5 separate regions of the Homo sapiens genome follow, and regions 1, 2, 3 and 5 are each linked to region 4. Evidence: promoter capture Hi-C in 16 types of primary human blood cells and fetal thymus (Javierre and others, 2016). All regions are on one chromosome and are shown on one strand. The core of a region is centred on a gene start or on the middle of the fragment in contact, and the rest is flanking DNA. Distances in the headings are between cores, read along the strand shown.

Region 1 (4,588 bases), core at 1,179-3,678, 340 kb before region 4:
GATTTATGATATATAAAATGTTCTCATGGCCTACTTGTTTACAAAGAATAAACCATTTTCACTGGAATTTACCTATTTATGGCTCAGAAATAGTTTTATGTTGAAAATATTTATATTTTAGAAAAGGAGATAAACACAACTTCATTCATGAAATAAATATTAGCCTAAAGAATAATAAGAAATGTTTTCCTTTAAGTGTCAGAGGCAGCATTTGATCAAGTTAACACAGTTTAATTTATTTATTTATTTATTTATTTATTTATTTAAGACAGAGTCTTGCTCTGTCACCCCAGCGGAGTGCAGCGGCATGATCTTAGCTCACTGCAACCTCTACCTCCTGGGTTCAAGCAATTCTCATGCTTCATCCTCCCGAGTAGCTGGGATTACAGGCATGTGCCACCACGCCTGGCTATGTTTTGTATTTTTAGCAGAGACAGGTTTCACCATGTTGGCCTGGTTGTTCTCGAACTCCTGACCTCAAGTGATCCACCCGCCTCGGCCTCCCAAAGTGCTGGGTTTACAGGTGTGAGCCACCATGCCAGGCCAACACTATTTTAAAATAAGGTAATTGTTTTGGTTACTAGGGTCAAAATCAAAGAGATTATATATTTTTATTATATCTACCTCAAATTGCAATCTAATAATTTCTGCATATGTAGAATAACCCAAAATAATAAGCTGGTAAAATAAGCTGTAATTTTTCTGATGCAATATTACTGATAGATACAGCACTGATATTGTTGATACAACATTGACATTAATTTGAATAATGTTCATTTATATTCTCAAATTTAGAACACTATTACTTTCATAAAACAATACTTTTATAAGAAGCTTAGGAGTAAAAGAACTGATAAATAAATAAAGTAAGTTTTACTGGATTTTTTGGTACACAATCATTCATAAAATTCTGGGAATTGAGGATCAATTCTGCTGTAGTCAATTTGAATATTTTGTAATTCCATATCTGAATAAATAAAGCTTGTATTTAATTATGTGGTAAAATGAAAATAGTTAATAAATTTTTTAAATGTAAAATTTCTTCATTTAATATTATTTGAAAGCAACAAAATACAGAAGAATTTAAAAAGTAAAGACCTAATCAACCAGAGAAAAACTGCATAAAACCAAAATCAATGATAATATCTTAAAAGCGGCCAGAGGTGGGGGAAAAAAACACAGATTACCTTCAAAGGCTTGACAGATCTTTTCTACATAGCAATGATAGATTACAACAGGAGTTCTTATATATATTTATTTATTACATATTTAACATATAATATATTCATATTTAATATGTTGTATATAGTTTATATATTATATATTGTATATGTGATATATATTTTTATATATTATATTATGTGCTATACATTATATTTATATATTTGATACATTATATTTATATATTTGATATATATTATATGCTTATATTTATATATAATATTTACTACATTTACATTTGACATAGTATATACTAATATTTATGTATAATATATACTACATATTATATAAATATATTATATAATGTGTGTACATCACATATATCATATAATACATTATATATACATATTATTATATAATATATTGCATATATTATATTAAATATTATATATAAATATGTTATGTTATATGATATAGATTATAATGTATAATTATAACTAATATGATATCTAACATATATAATATAATATATAATCATATTATATATTATATATTATAATATATAATTAGATATTATACTATATTACTATATATTATTACATAATATATGATTATATATAAAAAGCATAAGCTAATATATAATATGTAAAATATAAATATATATTTATAATATGTAAACCATCAGCTAATATATATAATAAATATATATGTAATATCTTTATTATATATAAAATGTATATTATATATTTATTATATATGATGTTATATTATCATATATATGATAAAATGTTCTATTATATTATATGTGTATATGTTATATATATATATTATATTATGTTATATATGTATTGAAATGGTGTCATTGTCTGGGGTAATACCCGAGATTTGTTGTCCCTTGGCCATGGAAAACTAAGACACATCAGACTGTGGATAAGAGTGGTTGTTTAACAGGCAAAAGAAAGAAAAGAGCTCTCTGCACAGAGAGGCTTCCTGGAGAAAATGGGTTCCTGCTTCTGCAGTGAAATGCAGGTTTTGTAGATGAGACTGAGGAGGTGGTGTCTAATTTACATAGGGCACACAAGATTGACTGAACCAGATGTTCCATTTGCATAGCACATGAGAATCTGGCCAATGCCACCCTAATCTTATTATGTAGATGGGTTCTCTACCTGGCTGGCACCATGTTGCTTACTTTTTACTGTACACGTGGTGACAAAGAAAAGGGAAGATGGAGCCTCCATGTTGAATATACCTGGCTTCCTGGTAGCCCTTCCCTATTGGCACAGCTGTCAGCATTCACACATGCAAACTTCGAGCATACTTATCTATGTTTACAGCTAGATTTTTCAGGCTGATCTTTGTTAGAAAAGAAATGATTTGGGTGCTGCTTTTTGTTAAAAGGGAAACCCTGTCAAGGATTCTGTTGCACTTACTATCTACTTAAATAATTTGTTTCTAGCTCCTGTATCAACATGACAGTGTATTTTGCTACACTGACAGAGAGACCACCATTAAATTAAAAATATTGCAAACCACACAAAATCCACAAAATGAATAGAAGAAAATAAAATAAATCTATTCAAAATTCAACCAACCGTAATAAAACAAAATACAAGAATCAAAACAATCTAGTGAAGACAATTACTCCCACGTCAACTATTTAGCAGTAAATGAAACATTGTACTACACCACTACAAATTGAATTACATATTTTCAAATAAGCCTTTGAGATTATAAAGGTCTGCCTTCATACAGAAATCCAAAAATTAAATACAAATCAGTGACAAAAAATAATACAAAATTATCTTGGAATAATAATTAAATGGTGCAAAGGAAAAACAGAGAAAACCAAAATTTAACAAAGGACGTTGAATAAAAAATGAAAAAATATTCAAGAGAATGAACATGAGATAAAGAATATTTAAAAGTGTTAAAGAGAAGATGGTTGAAGTGGAAGATAAACAAAGAAGAAACAATATACATATAATTGGAGGTCCTGAAGAGCAAAAACCAAGCAGTGGAACAGAATGTGTTAAACCATGGTTTCTGGACCTTGGCATGGTCAGAATTTTGGGCTTCATAAATCTTTGCTGAAGGAGACTATCCTGTGCAATGTAGGATGATTAGCAACACCCCTGACCTCACCCACTAGATGCCAGTAGCACCCTTCCCAGGTGAAAAGCTACAAAATGAACAGCAAAGTAAATCAAAAGAAAGCACGAAAAGAAAAATAAAAAAATGATAAGCAAAGTAATGAATAAATTAGAGAAGATGAAGTAACGGGCACTCAAGCTACTTTTCTGCTTTAGCCAAATAGAAAACTGGACAAATTATAAAAAATAATCATTTCCAGACACTGGCCAAAGGCACTGAAGGACTGGGATCTCTAAAGAAGGGAAACTAACGATGTGAGCCCTGCAATTACACCAGCTTGCTTCCTGGGGGCAGTTTTTAAGCCACAGCCCAGGAAAGTGAAACCCAAACATAGCTTTACATTCTTGTTGGATTGAGGAGAGAGATTAGAGTTCTGGGAAGCCAAGGAATGTAGAATTTGCAGGGTAAGATAGCAGAGAAGAGGGAGTTATCCGGATGTGGAGGAGCAGTGGGGCTTTGGAGATATGCAAAAGAGATCGCTCAGGTCTTTGGGTACTGATCTATGTAAACATAAAAGGAACTACTAAAGCTAAGGAAAAACCCACTGTAAAGAAGTGGGCATAAGCTTTCCCTGAAACTCAAACAGGACAGGGAACGTTTTATGTCCCCACAAACTAGAATAAAAAACTTTATAGTACATAGGTACATCAGGTCAGATCTTCAAAGGGATATTACCTTTGTAGTCAGGCTTAACTAGTCCAACTTTAAAGATTCCTCTGGACTTTCTCAAATTTTAAAAGCATCCGACTGATTCCAATTACTTTATTTGCTGGAAAAAAAATCCAAAACTTAAGAATAAAACAACTTCCAGCAACCAACCAACAACTTAAAGTCCAAAATAAGTTCTCAGTTTAAAAAATAAAATGAAACTACTTTTCATGCAAAGAAGCAGAAAAATATCACCCAGGGGAAAAATCTGTCAATAATAACAGATCTATGAGTGACAGACATAGAAGACCAAGCAGCTATTGTATTCAAACAGCTATTACAAATCTGTTTCATATGTTCAGATCATAGAGACAGCCACAACCATGATGAGAACAAGGGATGATATGAAGATACAAACGGACTTCTAGACATGAAAAATACATCTGAAGTAAAAGATAAGTTGGTAGTTTTAAGAACAGAGCAGATCTTGCATGATGAAAGATCAGTGAAAATAAAGACATAGCAACATAAACTATTCAAAACGAAAAGAGAGAAAATAAAGCTTCAAAATAAAGCATCAGTTACTGCGGAACGGTATCTAGTAAGAAGTCTAACATACATGCAT
Region 2 (4,766 bases), core at 844-3,343, 320 kb before region 4:
AATCCACACAATTACAACCAACTCATCTTCAACAAAGGCTCCAGGAATACACAATGGGAAAAGGACAGTCTTTTCCATAAATGGTGCTGGGGAAACTGTATAGCCACCAGCACAAGAATGAAACTAGACCCCTACCTCTCACCATACACAAAAATCAAGTCAAAATGGGTTAAAGATTTAAGTCTAAGATCTGAAGCTCTGAAACTATTAGAAAAAAGTCATGAGGAAATGATCTAGGACATTGGTCTGGTCAAATATATTTTGTGTAAGACCTCAAAAGCACAGTCAACAAAAGTAAAAATAGAAAAAATGGGACTACATCAAGCTAAAAAGCTCTGTACAGAAAAAAAAAGTGAAGAGACTACTCACAGAATGGGGAAAATATTTGCAAACTACCCATCTGACAAAGGATTAATAACCAGAATGTATATAAAGACCTCAAACAACTCTATAGCTATGTATATATATGTATGTCTTATTTTTATGTGTTATTCTGAAAAACGTCTATTCATATCTTTTTCTATATATATATATATATACTGATTAAAAATGGGCAAAAGATATGAGTAGACATTTTTCAGAATAAGACATAAAAATAGTCAACAGGTATATGAAAAAATGCTCAATATCACCAATCAGAGAAATGCACATCAAAACCACAGTGAGATATCATCTCACACCAGTTAAAATGTCTTTTATCAAAAAGTCAGGGAATAACAAATGCTGGTGAGGATATGGAGGAAGGAAAACTTTCATTCACTGTTGGTAGAAATGTAAATTAGTACAGTCACTATGGAAAACAGTATGGAGGTTCCTCAAAAACCTAAAACTAGAAATACTATATGATTCAGTGATTCCACTACTGAGTATATATCCAAAAGAAAGGAAAACAATATATCGAAAAGATATCTGCATTCCCATGTTTATTGCAGCCCTATTCGCATTAGGCAAAATGTGGAATCAACATAAGTGTCCATCAGTGGATGAATGGGTAGAGAAAATGTGGTATATATACACAATGGAATATTATTAAGCCATAAAAGAGAATAAAATTCTGTCATTTGTACCAACGTGGATGGAACTGGAGGTCATTATGTTAAATAAAATAAGCCAACTACATAAGACAAATATTGCTTGTTCACACTGATATACGAAAGCTAAAATGGTGGATCTCATGAAGATAGAGAGTAGATTGGTGGTTACCAGAGGCCAAGAAAGGGAGTGTGGAGGGAGGATAAGGAGAGGCTGATTAATGGGTACAAATATACAGTTAGATTCAATAATTAAGACCATGTTTGATATATCAGTGGGGTGACTATAGTTAACAATAATCTGTTGCACATTTCAAAATAAATAGAGGAGAAAAATTCATATGTTTCTAGCACAAAGAAAAGATAGATATTTAAGGTGATGGATATTCCAATTACTCTGATTTGATTTTTACAGATTATATGAATGTATCAAATTATCACATTTACCCCCAAAATTTGTATATCTATTATGTATCAATACAAATACATTTTAAAACTATGAAAGCCGATAGTGGTAGAATAGAAGGTACATGCGGAAGTTAGAGATAAAGCAATGCAAAAATTAAGAGACATGAACCACAGAATGAAAAGTCCAGTATTTGTCTGATAGTAATTCTAAAAGAAGAGAATAATTATAATTCATGGACAGTAAATAGATAAAGATAGAGAACTATTTGATGAAAGTTATGAATTGTTAAATCGAAGAAGTATAACAAGTCCTGAGCCAGATAAACAAAAATATAGCCTCTCCTAAACAAATTACATTGAATCTGTAAAAAATCTCAAGACAATGATAATGTCCTAAATATAAGCAGAGGGGAGGAAAACAGAATACCTGCAAACAATTAAACTCAGTGTATTTTAAAAGCAACAATACATCCTCGAAGTCAATGAGGTAAATTTGTTACTAAAAAAATCATCACTAGAATTGAACTAGAACTCTGAACCCAAGTTAGAACACTTTTCAAAACTGAGGGTGAATTAAAACATAGAACTAGAAAAAGTTTACATTTGTGAAAGAATTAACAAAAATTGAACTTCAGCAGAAAGAAAATGGAACCAAGTACCTAGGGGAGAAAAAACAAGTACAATAAAAAAGCAAAAGGAGGCAACAAATTGGTAAAATATCATTGAAAATTGAAATAAATAGTAACCATTAAAGATAATAATGATTATAACAATAATTAGTTAATTAATTTTGATAAAATAACTGGAAGATAAAGTATCTCATAACTAATCTCTTTATGTTATTAGAAGAAAAGACAATACGTTCTAAAATTTTTTTAATTACATTGTGCTAAAACTAAGTATTTGCTGATGTTTCCAATTCAAGAGCTTTCTCTTAAGTTCTCACTTTCCATTAACTTTAATATACATTTTGTGAATTTAATGATTATGACAATAAAACAATGCAAATTCCTTAAACAGGAGAGGAAAAGTAGGGAAGCATTAAATCTGGTCAATCCAAGAGGTGCGTGAAAGAAGAAATATGAAGAAAAAGGAATCCAAAAGAAAACATGATGACTAGAAAACAATAACAATTTCCATTTATATTTGGTCTCTTTTAACTTATTTTTCATGCCTTCTAGGATGAAGGTGAACCACTTGTTCAAACAAACAAGAAATGTAATGCAAAGGACTCATTTTACAAGTCCTCTACACAAAAGTAAGCAGTTTTCCCAGTGGAATTTTGATTTTGGAATATATTTCTTTTTCCTTTATGACACATCCTCTTTATGTCTATAATATCCTGGATCTTATGAGTGACACAGAGGACATCAAACGCAGACATTTACTGATATTGATTGCTAAAATAAACATTGAAGGAAGAGTCTTAAGGCACACCTATGCTTGATGGAAGAATAAAACCATAACAGAAAGTAAATGGTCAAAGAGGGAGTGGGGGGATAAGAGTACAGCATCCTAGAAAGCCAAGACAGAGAAAGTTTAAATGGGAGAATTCATTGACTCAGTCAACAAATATATTGGGTACCTATTACGAATCTATGTTTTAGACTATGAGCTACATCAGTGAGTAGGCAAAGATCTCTGCTCTCAAATCTCTCATTATAAAGGTGTATTGATCTCTTTTCACTCTGCTAATAAAGACATACCAGAGACTAGGCAATTTATAAAGGAAAGAGGTTTAATTGACACAGTTCCACATGGCTGGGGAGGCCTCACAATCATGGCAGAAGGCAAGGAGGAGCAAAGTTACGTCTTATATGGTGGCAATCAAGAGAGCCTGTGCAGGGCAGCTCCCATTTATAAAACCATCAGATCTCGTGAGACTTATTCACTACCACGAGAACGGTATGGGGGAAACTGCCCCCATGATTCAATTATCTCCACCTGGCCCCACCCTACACAGGTAAGGATTATTACAATTCAAGGTCAGATTTGGGTGGGGACACAGCCAAACCATATCAAAAGGGAAACAGACAATAATAAACAAACACACTTAGAAAGTAAATAGATCATATCTTAAAAAGTGACAGATAAGTCTATTAAGAAAAGGTAGAACAGGACAAGATCAGGAGTCCCACATGTACAGGGTAGCAGGCTTCAGTAATAAGTAGGAGGTGTGGGGAGGCCTCCCCAGGTGCTGAGGGGTGTGCAGAAATTTGGAGGAGTTGAGAGAGCAGCCATGCAGAGATTTGGAGTGACTCTATACCCTGAAGAGGGAATATAGAGCAAAAGCCCAGGTCAGAAGTATGCTTAAGATGTTAAGGAAGAACAAAAGGCCAGGGTGCCTGGAGTAGGGTAACAGTAGGGTAAGAGGAGGGAGTAGCAAAAGGAGAGGTCAGAGAAGTGCTAGGAACCAGATCTTGTGGGACACTTTAAGCAATTGTAATTTTACCAGGACTGTCATTCTGAGTGACATGAGGCTTTAGCAGAGAAGTGGAAAGATCAGACTTATACAAGAAGGTAATAATCATGGTGGCTGCTGTGATCAAAGTAGATTTTTACAGGGGAGAGAAGATGGAACACCAGTTAGGAGGTTATTGTTGTCATTTAGGACAGAGATAATGGTAGCTTGGGGGAGAGTGCTGGCAGAAAAATTTGTAAGCAACGGTTGAGTTCTGGATGTATGTCGAATGTAGAGCCAACACAATTTTCTGATTGTGATGAATCTGGAGAAAAGACGACTCAAAAATGATTCTAAGGCTTTGGCCTATGCAGCTGGATGTACTGAGGTTGCCATTTCATAACAAGGTGAAGGCAGTGGAGAAGTCAGTTTTACATACATTGAATATAAAGATGTTCATTAGACATCCAAGTGGATATGTCAAGCAGGCAGTGTGAAATATGGATTTGAAGTTTGAGGCAGAGGCCTGGGCCAGAGAAATCAACCGGGGTGTCATGGCTTGTAGAAAGGTATGTAAAGCCATGGAACTGAATGAGAACACTAAAGGTGAAGTATAGTCATACAGGCAAAGGGCACTGAGTCCTGGCATCTCGTTAAAAAAGAGAAAAAAAGAGGAGAAGCCAGCAATCGAGACTGAAACGGAGCAACCAGTAAGGTAGGAGGAAGATGAAGAGTCTAGGTCCTGGAAGGCAGATTGAGGATGTGTTCAGGGAAGAGTAGTGATTGCCTATTCACATCATGCAAATAGGTCAAGTGGGATGAGGCCCAAGAATGGATAATGGGGCTGACTAGTGGATTTAGAATTCAGCAGAGTGATAGAGTGAATGCCAAAACACATGGCATGACACAGAGAAATGGATGAAGAG
Region 3 (4,920 bases), core at 1,378-3,877, 270 kb before region 4:
TCCTGGGAGACAGTATCTCCCTCATGTCCCGATCCCACAATGGTGATGGGAGTGTTTAACACAGAAAAACAGTGGTTTCCCCAGATTTCCCATTGCAACGACAATGTTTCAAAAAGCTTTCTCCCACCATTGTCACTAGCTCCTCTCTCCTGACTTTGCAGTACTGTCAATTAAGGAGTAAGATTCTGCCCTAAATGCAAACATTCAAGCATAGCACACTCTGGTGCAAACCCAAGGCATGCATTTCTCTTCGCTTCTATAGAAATTTGTACTCAAAGTTTACAAATATTTGTTGAGTTGGGTGTCATTTGATACAAATATGGTATGATAAGATTTCTTTTGTCCCTCATAGTGTCATCTTTACTCTTCCTTGCTCTTTCAAGGGAAAGTAAGTTTCATAAATTTTTTTAAAAAGACCAAAATTTGTTAGCATAAAACTTGTACTATTATATAAGAGTATTAGGGCCTTTAACTTTTATCATATGCTAAAATTACTTCAACATGGATCAAAAACCTAAATGGAAGACCTAAAACCAGAAAACTCTTTTTTTTTTTTTCGTCTGAGACAGAATCTCACTCTGTCACTCAGTCTGGAGTGCAGTGGCGCGATCTCGGTTCACTGCAACCTCCAACTCCCAGGTTCAAATGATTCTCCTGCCTCAGCCTCCTGAGTAGCTGGGATTACAGGCGTGCGCCACCACACCTGGCTAATTTTTGTGTTTTTAGTAGAGATGGCATTTCACCATGTTGGCCAGGCTGGTCTAGAACTCCTGACCTTAAGTGATCTGCCCGCCTTGGCCTCCCAAAGTGCTGGGATTGCAGGCATGAGCCACCACATCCAGCCCAGAAAACTCTTACAAGAAAACACAGGAGAAAAGCTTCATAATGTTGGATTTTTCAATGACTTCTTGGATATGACACCAAAAAATAGGTAAAAAAATAAAATAATTAAGTTGGATAACATCAATATTAAAAACTTCCATGCATCAGGGAATACTATCAACAGAGTGAAAAGGCAACTATCAGAATGGAGAAAATACTTGCAAATTATATATCTGATAAGAGACTATTATCCAAAATATATAAATTACCTTTTAACTCAGCAATAACAAATAACTCAATTAAAAACTGGGCTTGAATAAATATTTTTCTAAAAAAGATACACAAATGATCAACAAGCATATGAAAACTGATCAACTAATCATTAGGAAAATACAAATGAAAACTAAAATGTGATGTCACTACACACCTATTAGGATGGCTACTATTAAAAACAACAGCCAGGCACCATGGCTCACGCCTGTAATCCCAGCACTTTGGGAGTCCAAGGCGGGCAGATCACCTGAGGTCAGGAGTTCGAGACCAGCCTGGCCAACATGGCAAAACCTCATCTTTACTAAAAATACAAAAATTAGCTGGGCATGGTGGTGCGTGCCTGCAATCCCAGCTATTCAGGAGACTGAGGCAGGAGAATCGCTTGAACCTGGGAAGCAGAGGTTGCAGTGGGCCAAGATCATGCCACTGCACTCCAGCCTGGGCAACAAGAGTGAAACTGTCTCAAAAAATAAATAAAAATAACAAATACTGGTGAGGATATGGAGAAACTGGAACCCTTGTGCACTGATGGTGGGAATGTAAGATGGTTCAGTGATTATGGAAAACAATATGCTGGTTCCTCAAAAAACTAAATATATAATCCAATAATTCCACTTCTGGGTATATATCCAAAAGAATTGAAAGCAGGGTCTTAAAGAAATACTTGTACACCCACATTCATAGCAGTGTTATTCGCAATAGCCAAAAGGCAGAAGCAAGCCAAGTGTCTACTGATGAATGGATGGATGGATGGACAGATGGATGGATGGATGCATGCATGAACAACATGTGGTCTATACATACAATGGAATATCATTCAGCCTTAAAATGAAGGAAATTCTGACACATGCTACAACATGGATGAAACTTGTAGGCATGGTGCTAAATGAAATAAGGCAGTCACAAAAGGACAAATAGAGGATGATTCCCCTTATATGAGGTATCTAGAGAAGTCATATTCATAGACAGAAAAAAGAACGGTGGTTTCCTAGGGCTGGTGGTTGGAGAGAGGAATGCGGAATTAGTGTTTAATGAGTTTCACTTTAGGAGAATGAAAAAGTTCTGGGGATGGATGGTGGTGATGGTTGCACAACAGGTATTTAACACTATTTAAATATACCCTTAAAAGTGATTAGGATGATAGATTTTATGTCATGAGTATTTTACCATAGTTGTAAACAAAACTTATGTTATGAGAAATGACCAATATTGACAACAGGGAGGAATAAGGGAAGAGACCAGAAAGGAATCAGCAGACCATCAGAGTTCCAGGGTTTAGAGGGAAAGGCGGCTTGCTCAATCAAATAGGTAATTACTTATTTGCACCATCGTTTGGACACATTTTATATTCATCGTCACTTAGGAGTAAGATTATTTTCTATTGGCTACCAGTTATATCAGGAAAGGTTTCCAGACCATTGATGAGAATGAAAAATATGTCCTGCGCTTTCAAATAACTAACTCCCTGGAGCAACAAACACATATCCAATTAGCTGACAGTGCTTTTATGGAAATATAAACAAAATTTAATGAAAGCAGTTTATTTTCCCCGAGCACATTAGAAAAGCCATCTCGGAGTACTTTGCGTTAAGAATGCTCAGGGTCTTTCTGATAAAGAAAGGGAGCAAGCGTGCCAACCACATGCCCAATGTGAGCAATGACACAGACCCAGTTGGGCCCGGTGCTCTGCTGAGAGAGCAGGCAGGGAGAGAAGGAACTCATGCTGAACCTGCGACAAGCCCATGAAGAGCTCTGAACACCATCATGAGGACTGAGATGATAGGTTGTCTCTAATAACCATCTGAGCTGGCCTCTGCCTGGTGCTGCTACTTTCAATGGTGCTGCTACTTCTCCCAAAGAAGCCTGCCTTTGCTCCTGGGATTGCCTTAGGAAATGCCATGCATGCCCAAGGCAAAATTGTCATTGGAAAACTACCTCACATATACTTCACGCTGAGGCATGAGTTAAGCTGAAGGCTTTTATGTCAGCAAGCTAGTAGTCTGAGTGTGCACAGTTCACCTAAAGCTAGTTTGCTTTCATTAGTACCAGAGATGCAAGAAAGCCATACACCAGATTATCTATAGCATTCAAATGGAGGTAAACCAAGGCTTACAAATAAAAATTCATTGCCCCTAGTTTTCACTCATGACTAGAAAAATTCCAATTGTGCCTTCATAGTTTTTATTCAATAATCATTTTAAAGCATCTACTATCTGCTGGCATTTGTACTGGGTGCTGAGAATACAATGGGAAACAAAACACATTCCTGGCACTCATAGGGCTCACAGAGAATGGGCAAGATGGAAACACACAGCTGATGGTGAAGCCGGGTGAAGGCTGCCATCCTGCAGTCCAGTTAGTATGTATGTGCCGGCACCTCAACAAGCCCGGAGCTCTCTTATGCTCCAGTAAACCTGACAGGTCATGCTGTCATTAACGATCCCATTTTCCAGATCAGGAAAACTGAGACCTAGAGGGGAAGACCACTGCAGAGCAGGGATTGACCAGCCATCTCAGTCACTTGCAAGGAGGAGAGAGTCCTTGGAAAGGAATAGCCCCCCAAAAAAAGGCATGACCAGGACTAGCAGAAAGCACTTCTGGGACAGCAGGGAAGGGACTCGGGACATGGCCAGATGGTAGCTGCTCCTGGGCCTTGAATGCCAACTCGGGCATTTTTCTTTATTAATTTATGCCCTGAGCTCAGGCAGCTTTCCTCATGATTCCATGGGGGTTTTGTTTTTTCTTTGCCTTAGAGTTAATTAAACCGATGCGCTGGCCCTGATAGCCATGCAATTATATTCCCTAAGTGCTTTCACACACGGCTGGGTTTAACAACAGCAGATGAACAGTTTGGTTATCCATGGTGCAGTCGGTGAGAGTCCAGCACAGAATTGAAAGATATCTCTGGTCGAATTAGCTTCTGAGGAATCTAGACCAGAGAACTCAGAGGCGGGTGGCAGCGTGACCCCAAAGGCACTTGGCTGTGCAACTGGCTTTGCCAGAACCCTGGGGAATTCCACCTGGAACCCTCCAAGACCCCAAAGGCAAAGAAAAAGCACACATAGACCCCTGTGCATTACCATTTTTTCAAACGTTCCAGGAAATAAATCCTGTCACCTTTACCAAGTTCCTTATCCATCCAGACACTTCCGTTAAAAATGCGTTTTTGTGTTTAATAAATTGCTTCTACTTGGCGGAAAATCATTTCTCACTGTTATCTCTGTGATCGGTTACTTCTGCCCTTCTTTAATGGACTTCACCTGATTATACGGCTAGTCATTAAAAGCTTAGTCCCCAGTACAATGGTATCTTCTGTAGAGTGATCCATGAGAGCTTTATAGAGGCTTACCAGCCACAGCCTTAATTTTACTCATTCGTCTTAATTTTTTGTAATCATTTTTTGTAAAGAGGGTATAATGTCAGGCTTGCTTCCCTGCCTCTGACAGATCCAATCTAGCAGATAATTACCATAAGGAAATTGATGCTTTAGTGTGCAGGAGAGAATTTAATTTACTCAGACATCCTACAGTACAATGCATTCCAGAAGATATGAGGATTTAAGTTTTTAAGAAATTAAATTTTACTATTTAACATGATTACTTATGTTGAACATCATTAACTAGCTTTTTTAACTGTTTGAAATAATTACAAGCACACTTGCTGTGTCTAAAATCCAGAGCCTGCATTAAATATGGGTTAAGGATCCATGAAATGAAAAGAAAACCTGCACTCTTTTTTTTTCTCTCCAGTCTTCCAAAAATTGCTCTTTGAAACCTATGGAGAAGTACTAAGAAAATGCTCTCTTTGAAAGATATAGATTCTTTT
Region 4 (4,867 bases), core at 435-2,934:
AGAAACCCTACTTTAGGTTCAAGTATTTGAAATTTTGCCTTCCAAATTACTTGTAAGTACAACAGCCAGGTTTAATGCAGCTTTTATCTCCCATAATGCCTTACAAAGACATTTGTCACATTGTAAGTAGGTGTTCACAAATCTTTGTTTAAAAAACAATTAGAAAACTTAAGATCCAGAGCTTTAAAGACACTGTAATTTATTTAAAGCTGTAAAGCTAAATAAGCTAGAGTCAAAACTAGATCTGACCTCTTCTGTCAAGCAGTTCATCCTTTTTTTCACTATACCATTTTGATGTTAAACTCATTTATACAATACTAGAAATGAGAAACTGAAAGAAAGGTGACTCAGAAAACACTTGACACAAACTTTCACAATTAATATTATCATTCTCTTCCTCTCCATGGCTTCATTCCCCTTTATCATCTGTTATCCTGAAATTTCTACCATACCTCAGAGTTCTAGTCACTGTTCTCAGAATAAACCCCCTTCTCTTTTCCATCTTCACCTTTCCTTCAATATTCATCTTCCAAGTCTTACTTCTTCCTTTCAATTCAATCATTTAAATGGCAAATAAGGATAACCAAAAACTGGCCATCACCGATCAGTGACACAACCATTGTCTTGTTTACCATTTCCAAGTCAATTTAACCTTTATGGCCTTTCCTAGATCTAAAAAGTATGATTAATTAGCACTGTCATATGAACTGCATTTCAATCTTCTTTATTTTGCCAATGTTCTGATTATTTTAATAATGTCATTATCTGTCTTCCTAGACAGTTGGCTTCTGCAGGGAGGAATTGTTTTCCATTCCATTCACATTGTCTTAGTACCTAGAATACAGTGTCCTTTGGAATAATAGCTACTAAAATACTGACGGAGTGCCTACTCAGTACCAAGCACTGTGCAAGCCTTTCATAGGATTCTGTTCTTGATGCAAAACGGGAGTTAAGAGCACAGGGTCTGGAGCCAGGCTGCCTGCTTTCAAATCCTGGCTCTATCATCTGCCAGCAGTGACTGCAGGAAAATCTCTTAATGTCTTTCTGCCGGTTTTCACCTATAAAAGAAGCGCAGCAACATCACTGAGCTGACAAGGTATTTTAATTCTGCAAAGCACTAGACAGAGGACTCAGCACTTAGAAAATACTCTATAAAATACTGCTTCTTCTGATTCCTCACGATGACCCCTGAAAGGTATGAGCCCTTCTTTCTCATCACAGAGATTAAGAGCTTGCCTGGGTCACAGGGGAACTGACTGACCCCCGCTGTGGGCGCCCAGAGCCCCGCTGGGCCCAGTAAATGCCTGCGGTAAGCGGCCCCGCCCCCGGACAGGCTCTGCCAAAGGAAGCCGCCCGCAGACCTGGCCCCGAGCCTGCCGTCCACGCCGGGCCCCAGCTTCCTAATCCTGGATGAGTCTGGTTCTGGGCTAGCGGGTCAGCCACCCTCCCGCTAAGACAGAAGCAAAAGGGCACAGCCACTGCCTGGCTCCCGCCTCCCACGGCCTCCCGCGAAGTCACCGCCCCGCGACCCCCAGCATTCCAGAGGCACACGCCCGCCTCTCCCCTACGCCCCAACCCTGATGCTCCACAGGGGTCAGCAGCGCCCCTGCCCCGCCTCCCGTCACCGCATCCTACCTGCGGCTGGTGTGGGACGCTGGCAGCCTCCGAAAAGCGCGGGGACTGACGTGCGCCTGCGCGCTGCTGTCGCCCTCGGACTCGCGCCGTACGTGCGTGCGTGAGTGCGTGAGTGCGTGCGTGCGTGCGTTCGGCGCGCGGGGCGTGGGCGCGGCACCTGGGCCCGGGCACCGCCACCTAGGCCCTAGCTCCGACCAGTGGTGTTCTATAAACGCTTATTACATCATTGTGCATAGGCTTCATTTTTAAAAGTACTCCCAAATAAATACAAGGAGGCGATGGAAATTGAATGAAGATTCGAAGGATTCCCATAGAGCGTGGCTCACTTCCCCTCACCGGGACAGCGAGCGGCGGCTCACCTGGGAGAGCAAAGCGTGGCTCTCCTGCGCCCACCCGGGAGAGCAAACAATGGCTCACCTGCGCCCACCCGGGAGAGCAAGCGTGGCTCACCTGCGCCCACTCGGGAAAGCCAGCCGCCATCCTGTGCTGCAGGCAGGGAGCGGGCGGCGGGAGAGGAGCGGATCCACTTAGGTCAGCGGTTAAAACGTCGTTACAAGAGGCCACCCCGGCATCGCGGGGCCTGTGGCTGCGCCCCCTCTTGAATTCAGGCCTAGCACATCACCTCCGCCCCTCGCACCCTGCAGTCTGCGCTCCATACAGCACGTGAGCGGGTGCTCAGCAATGTTCCCTGGCTGAAAGAACCGCATAGAGTAGCATGCAAAAATGACATGCATGTTTAAGATAAAATAAGGGAGAGGACACCTGTTCTGACTGAGTCTGGCAACTCAGATCTCCCCGCAGCCAACATCTACATTCCTTTGGACAGCTGTCTGCTGTGTAGGGACACCTCCCTGGAACTTTGAAAAGCACCCCATCATTACCTTCCACTTTGTTCTGGAGCAAGGTTTCAAAAGAAGAGTGCCGTATTTTGATTAATTTAGTGAATTGGATTTTCAGACACAAGTAAGAGCATCCACTCAGTGGCCTCTGCAGTAAATAATGATATCAGATCACATAACAAGAAGACTGGAGGTTGGCGGGAAATCTGGACCTGGTGACTCAAAGAAGTCATGAAGGACCATCTCTCCATTCTGCCACCTTCTCGCCTGTGGATTTTCCTCCCCAGGCTTGTCACTTCATTGTCGAGAGATGCCCTCACAATCCAAGCCAGGCAGCCTCACATGACCAGATCTAAAACACAAAGAGGGAGCCAAACTGAGAAAGGACCTTTTCCCTCTGAACACTTCTCTCTTGGAAAAAGAAAATGTTTCCCAGAAAGCCTCATAGCCTTCCTCTTATATCTCCTTGACTAACTGGGACCCGGATCCCTGGATATCCTTTCCTGAGAAAGAGAGGGTCTGGGGCAGGGGATAGAGAAAATGACTAGCAACTAGCAGCACATGATGTTTAAACATAAGATTTAAAGAAATGCAAGGCACAAACAATTTGAAGACTTTTTTTAAGTTTTTAAAATCTTCACAAAATAAAAAGGAATTGGACAATGCACTTTAAAAACTAGAAGACGTTTCACTGAAAACAGCATCTCCTAATTCATTTCATGGCTTAGATAGTAATAGAAAATTATTTTATTCTAATTCCATACTTTATCAACTAATTTTAATTATTTTATAATTACCCAAAATATGTCATGTAGAATGAAAATAAAAGAAAATGAAAACAGTTATATCAAGGCCAAGTCAGTTGTATGTTTACTGGCTATTTAGAAATTTCTAAATACGTGTATATTTAGAAATGACTATATAGATACTATTTGGGTAATGTTAGGGATGGAAAGTTTATGTCCCCCCAAAATTTGTATGTTGAAATCCTAAGCCCAATGTGATGGTTTTAAGGGGCGGGGCCTTTGTGAGGTGATTAGGTCATGAGAGTGGAGACTTCATGGATGAGAATAGTAAGTATCCTTATAAAAGAGACTCCAGAGGCTGGGTGCAGTGTCTCATGCCTGTAATCCCAGCACTTTGGGAGGCCGAGGCAGGTGGATCGCCTGGGGTCAGGAGTTCGAGACCAGCCTGGCCAACATGGCAAAACCCTGTCTCTACTAAAAATACAAAAATTAGCCAGGTGTTGTGGTGGGCACCTGTAATCCCAGCTACTTAGGAGGCTGAGGCCTGAGAATTGCTTGAACCCAGGAGGTGGAGGTTGCAGTGAACTGAGATCGCGCCACTGCACTCCAGCCTGGGGGACGGAGTGAGACTGTCTCCAAAAAATAAAATACAATAAAAGAGACTCCAAAGAACTTTCTAGCCCTCTTGCCACCACCTAAGGATGCAAAGAGTTGACAGCAACCTGGAAGAGCCCTCACCAGAACTCGACCATTCTGGCACTCTGACTTCCAGCCTCCACTGTGAGAAATAAATTTCTATTGTTTATGAGCCACTCAGCATATGGTACTTTGTAGCCCTAGACAGGCTAAGACAGGTAATTAGCAATTTTAGGTGATTTTCATCATCAAAATTTTCATGATGGCATTTTGGAGAATTCACATAAACCACTCTGTTACCCTCCTAAAAGTATTGCTCAAATACTGAATTATATTTATGCTTGCCAAAGTTAATTTTTTTCCAACAAGTAACACTAGCCACTTCATTTTGTGCTTTTGATACAAAAGCATTTCCCAATCCAGCGGCTTTCATCTTCTGGCCTGGTTGGCAAAAGTGTAACTCACTTCTGCACCCTCTCTGAACCCTAGTCTCCTCCTCAAATGTAAAACAGTAATAAACCTTTCTTACCCAGGAAGCCATTATAAGGATTATAATCAACATAAGATATAATTCTTTAATTATCAAAGCAGTTGCTGGCATGTGGCAGGCATTCAACAGAAACCGTGTTGCTATGTTATTTTTATTGTTACCATTAATATTCCTATTGGGATTGAAACCCTTATGTCATATCAAAACTTTTCCATCTTTGACAAATGAGACATATTAGGATAGTATCTTAATAATATGTAAGAGTTTAGTGCTTGAGCTATTCAATTATTAAACTTTGCTTCCAAGACCACAGACTGGTGGTATATACTGTGTGCGTGTGTGTGTGTGTGTGTGTTTGTGTGTGTGTATGAGAAAGAATATGCTGTTCTTTTCTTCTTCTGGGTAGAAGTTGTTGAGCCTTCAAGGGAAGAGGTTTTCACCTACAGCAGACAGTGCCAGTTCTCTTGGTGTGAGGGATTCTGGGAGATGGCTGCCCATTTCCATATTCATGAATTTTATAA
Region 5 (4,538 bases), core at 1,292-3,791, 290 kb before region 4:
CCAGGCCTCCGCCTGGGGAAGGCTTGTGCGGCGGTGGGAAATAAAGGCTGCTTCTCCGCGCTGCGCAGTGTGGTGGGTTCGGTGCTGTTCTCCGCTGGCCTGCGCGTCCCTGCCCAGCCCGCCTCTCTCCCCCGGCAGGCGGCGCTCAGCTGGACACTGGGCGCCCGCCAGCCGCGGCGCAGACTCCCAAGCCGCCGGCAGCAGGGTAGCAGGGCCTGTGTTGCAGAAGATTCCTCTTTAGGGTTGGAATATTGGGTCTACCTAGAGGTTTCACATGGCACCACTTCAGTGCAGGGATTCTAGAGCAGAGAGCAGACCATAGATTTTAGAATCTCAAAGGCAGTCTAGTCAAAAATCCGTATGCTGTCAGTGGGAACCCTGAGCTACTGAGAAAGTGCGTTCTTCTTTTCTAGCAGGGGACATCACACAAGGGGACAACATCTACCCTCTCTTGGCCTGCTCCAGTGTTTCCTTCAGAGAGAAGTGTTCCCCAGTCCCCATGAGGGTCCTGAAGTCTAAGTCAGGACCACTTTGGGTTAGAGTGTGGCCTGACCCGGCCTTGACCAAAGAGAGCACCAGCTCGCAGAATCTCTCAGGGGTGCATGTGGGCTGAGGGGGAGCCCTCTGGCCTTCGGAATATACACATAAAGTACATTTATATAGTATTTGCATGCACATATACACATACACAGAGCCTATTGGAGTTTACAAAGTGCTTTTGTAAACCTTAGCTCATTTGATCCTGCAACCTTGTAATAAATTCTTATAGCAGGCATTTTACAAATATCTTGCAATTTATGAATTAAATAGACTAAGGCCAGGAGAAGTGAAGTATTTAAGGTCACGCAACTAATAATTAGTAGAGTTATAACTAGAATCCAGGTTTTCTAAATTTAGATATTATACCTCTCCTACCCTTCCATTTTTTCAGCAAATTGGATAACCTTCAATGAATTATAAAAACAAAACAAATAGAAACTGAAAAAAAAAACCCTCCCTGTGTTTCTAGACTTTTCTGAAGTGTCTCAGGGTTTTTATCTGACTTCTAAGAAATTAAGATCAAGATAGTTATACCTCAGAACTCCAAGTAAATGTGTAAATTCTTTTGGGGGTAGTTTGTTCTTGATTTTCCCACAGAAAGGGGGAAGTCAGCTATCTTTGTGATGGAATCATGTATTGCCTCAATGGACAACAACACATGCTTCGATGGTGAGTGTTTTACCAGGATGAAAGAGGAAGGGCAACAGCCATCCATCCTGAGGGCGGACGTGCCTGCGTGCAAAAGGAATGGTTCCCCCTGAACCCAATCTTGTAGTTTCATTATTTTTAGAAAGAGTAAATTGGAAAAAAAATAGACCCAAATAAAAATCTTCAACTCTGGAATGTTCTCAGCAAAACACAAATGGGGCAGTATTAGCCTCCTTCAGGAAGCAGGTTAACGTAGGTACCTGAGATTACATTTTGCAGTAAACATCCCTGGCAGGCCACTTTGCCAGGGGGTGGTGGTGCTCAAAATCTGAGGCACCTCTTCATCATTCTGGGCCTGGATAGGGCTTCAGTAATACTGGATCTTAGCATTTTCCAGGCTAAGATAATTTTTCCATTCTCTACAGTGCAGATACCTAGACACCTGTAAGAGCACTTGAACACCCCAATGCTGCTTCTAGAAGGATGTTGGCTTTGTCTGCGGCATCCCTGGGCCTCATTCAGAAAAAGAGAGATGGTGACTCTTCATTTGCTTGTTCAGACTTATCACTTGTGAAGATAAAAATGCAAATCCTGTTCACCACAGACCTAGAATCCCAAGGTCAGTCACAACAAGGAAGAACATAGAATTACCAGTGTTCCTGACCCTGACCTGTGGGGTGGGTGTAAGTTGTAGTATTTGGGCTTCTGTGGTCAACATTACAACTAAAAGTCACAAAAGCCATGGAAAATAGTCTCAGGGATACACATCTGCTCTTCAGATTCTGAATTCTGGTCTTGCATGATTTCTTTCACCAGGAGCCAGCAGAGCTGTGCTTCCTCGGACTAACAACTTGCCCCTCACTCCCTACCCTCCGGGCACCGTCTCCTCTATAAAGTCACCCTCTCAGCTTTTCTTTATCCCCAGAGATGACACAAATACAGAGAACTGTGGCATTTTTATAGCATTTAGGTGAAAGATGTTATAAATTATACAGTTCACCTGAGAGAAAAAATACATGCTAAACCAGGCAGTGCCTCACACCTGTAATCCCAGCATTTGGGGAGGCCAAAGCGGGAGGATTGCTTCAGCCCAGAGTTCAAGATCAGACTGGGCAACACAGTGAGACCTCTTCTCTACAAAAAAAAAAAAAATCAAAAAATGAAGGAGGATCACTTGAGCTCTGGAGGTTGAGGCTGCAATGAGCCATGATTGCACCATTGCACTCTTGCCTGGGTGACAGAGTGAGACCCTGCCTCAAAAAAAAAATAAATAAATAAATAGAAAGAAAGAAAGAAAATGAAAGAAGAAAATCCATGTGAATAATCTTATTCTAGCAAATAAGGATGTTAGAATGCAGCATATTAAAATATTACAAAAGTACAATACTATGAAAAAATATGGCACTCAACACAGAGCAGAATGGAAACTAGAATTGAACAGAGGAAAGTATTTTGAACTCCTGAGTGCAGGATAGGTTTTTTTCAATAGATGGTATTGGGACAACTATTTGAAACAAAAAAGAAATGTAGATCCACTAAATGAATTGTTCCTGGAATACAGACTTAAATAGATAAGTTACAGATTACTCGGAAATTCAAGAGAATTGGTTTATAAGGTGGAGGGTGTGAAAAAAATTTCCGAAAAGGACACTGAAGGAGATAAAAAGCTACTTTCAGTATAAAAAATACAACCAAAATTTTAAGATAAAACTGCCAGGAAAATATGTCAAAGGATTCATATTCTCATTGTAAAAACAGCCTATGATTTAAAAATGATTATACTAATAAAAACAAGTCAAAGGATGTTAATAAAAAATAAGAAATATGAATGGCCAATACAATTTTTATACCTCAGTAGTATTAGAGAAATGACAGTAGTATTTCACTTTTCACCCACAAACTGGTGCTTATGAGCAGAAATAGATGTCTGTATACCACCGGTAGTTTACATGGGTAATACCTTCCTAGGGGATATTTGGCAAAATGTTTTAAGAGCTTTCGCAAGTGGCTTACATTTCAACTTGGTCATTTCGTTTTTAGGATTTTGTCAAAGCAAATAATCACACAGTAAGCAAATATATATGCATAAAGAATTAAAGGTGCAGCATTTTATTTAACTGAGAGAAAATGAAAACAACTTACTGTCCTGTAGGGTAAACACAACTGATAGCAATAACTTAAGCATACTCTTAGAATGACCCTTATGGCAGATGCACCTGATGTGTGTTCTGAGCTAGGGCATCTGGGAGTGGCTAACACAGAGATTGGTTTCTTATCTATGATAAACATCTGAGCCCCTGTCCCATCCTGTGGAACATGGCCGAACAAGAGATTGAGGCCCTGAGTTTTGGGTTCATGAAGGTTGGAAGGTGGAGTTCACTAGGAGGAGGATGTTAAGTGAAAATGCTATATAAACTGCATGCTGTTTGCAAGCAGTTGCAGTTTTCCTGGCCAGCCTGCTGCCACTGGGTTATGTGGTTATGTTGTCCAGGCTACCACCACCATTTCTGTAATTAAGGCAGTCCTATTATCCAGCCTGCCTGCATTGGACTCTCTCCCCTGTATAGTATGCTCCTAATAAAATCCCATGCTTCATTTGCTGTCTCTGGATCTCTTCTTCGGCCTCTTGAACCTAGTGTCTTCCCTATTGAGATGCAAAGTTCGATACAACATGCCCATCGAAAGAAAATGTGATAGGCCGGGCGCGGTGGCTCACACCTGTAATCCCAGCACTTTGGGAGGCCAAGGTGGGCAGATCACCTGAGGTCAGGAGTTTGAGGCCAGCCTGGCCAACATGGTGAAACTCCATCTCTGCCAAAAATACAAAAGTTAGCCAGGAATGGTGGTGGGCACCTGTAATCCCAGCTACTCAGGAGGCTGAGGCAGGAGAATCACATGAATCCAGGAGGCGGAGGTTGCAGTGAGCCAAGATTGGGCCACTGTACTCCAGCCTGGGCAACGAGAGTGAAACTCCATTTCAAGAAAAAAAAAAGAGAGAGAAAATGTGATAAATTGTTGTACATTAATGTACTGAAATATATGCATTAAAAAGATAATAGAGCTTCGTATTGATTATCATGAAAAGATATATATGCAATATTGTTAAATGCAAAAGCAGGTATTACAACAGCGTGTATTTAATTATTTAAATTTTAAATATATGTATACATAGAAGACTGTAGAGAAAAGGTAAATAGTTACTAGTTCTGAGATTACAGGTGATTACCCTTTTATACTGTTACTACAGTAGGCATGTGTTCTTAAAAACTGGAAAACTTAAGAAGTTATAAAAAAGTCAATGCCCTTTCTCTTCAAAGGTCCTTACATAAGAAACTATCCAAAACATTCCT

The links. Contacts are between HindIII fragments. The CHiCAGO score rates a contact against its expected background, and 5 or more counts as called.
Region 1: a contact is called between a fragment that was not itself captured here and the fragment with the promoter of FIGNL1 in region 4, in 9 of 17 cell types (activated CD4 T cells, non-activated CD4 T cells, fetal thymus and 6 more). The highest score is 15.3, in activated CD4 T cells.
Region 2: a fragment that was not itself captured here is called in contact with the fragment with the promoter of FIGNL1 in region 4 in 11 of 17 cell types (activated CD4 T cells, total CD4 T cells, naive CD4 T cells and 8 more); the score reaches 14.8 in activated CD4 T cells.
Region 3: a contact is called between a fragment that was not itself captured here and the fragment with the promoter of FIGNL1 in region 4, in 12 of 17 cell types (naive CD8 T cells, total B cells, activated CD4 T cells and 9 more). The highest score is 15.7, in naive CD8 T cells.
Region 5: a contact is called between a fragment that was not itself captured here and the fragment with the promoter of FIGNL1 in region 4, in 8 of 17 cell types (total B cells, non-activated CD4 T cells, naive CD8 T cells and 5 more). The highest score is 10.0, in total B cells.

Annotation. Positions count from the first base shown.
Region 1 is chr7:50,109,130-50,113,717 of GRCh38, forward strand. All of the region lies in intron 2 of SPMIP7 (sperm microtubule inner protein 7), which reads left to right. Among named protein-coding and RNA genes, the nearest start is that of SPMIP7, 16 kb to the left of the region's middle. The HindIII fragment of the contact is 2,899 bases long and covers 980-3,878 here.
Region 2 is chr7:50,127,097-50,131,862 of GRCh38, forward strand. SPMIP7 (sperm microtubule inner protein 7) reads left to right here. Exons shown (of 9, transcript NM_001161834.3): 3 at 2,621-2,697. Among named protein-coding and RNA genes, the nearest start is that of SPMIP7, 34 kb to the left of the region's middle. The HindIII fragment of the contact is 6,824 bases long and covers 1-4,766 here.
Region 3 is chr7:50,175,753-50,180,672 of GRCh38, forward strand. No RefSeq gene overlaps it. Among named protein-coding and RNA genes, the nearest start is that of SPMIP7, 82 kb to the left of the region's middle. The HindIII fragment of the contact is 3,503 bases long and covers 877-4,379 here.
Region 4 is chr7:50,448,666-50,453,532 of GRCh38, forward strand. It overlaps FIGNL1 (fidgetin like 1), which reads right to left and starts at 1,685. Exons shown (of 4, transcript NM_001287492.4): 1 at 1,636-1,685; 2 at 453-1,058. RefSeq lists silencers at 1,206-1,500, 1,642-1,831. The HindIII fragment of the contact is 8,767 bases long and covers 1-4,867 here.
Region 5 is chr7:50,159,194-50,163,731 of GRCh38, forward strand. It overlaps SPMIP7 (sperm microtubule inner protein 7), which reads left to right. Exons shown (of 9, transcript NM_001161834.3): 9 at 1-63. Among named protein-coding and RNA genes, the nearest start is that of SPMIP7, 66 kb to the left of the region's middle. The HindIII fragment of the contact is 7,687 bases long and covers 1-4,538 here.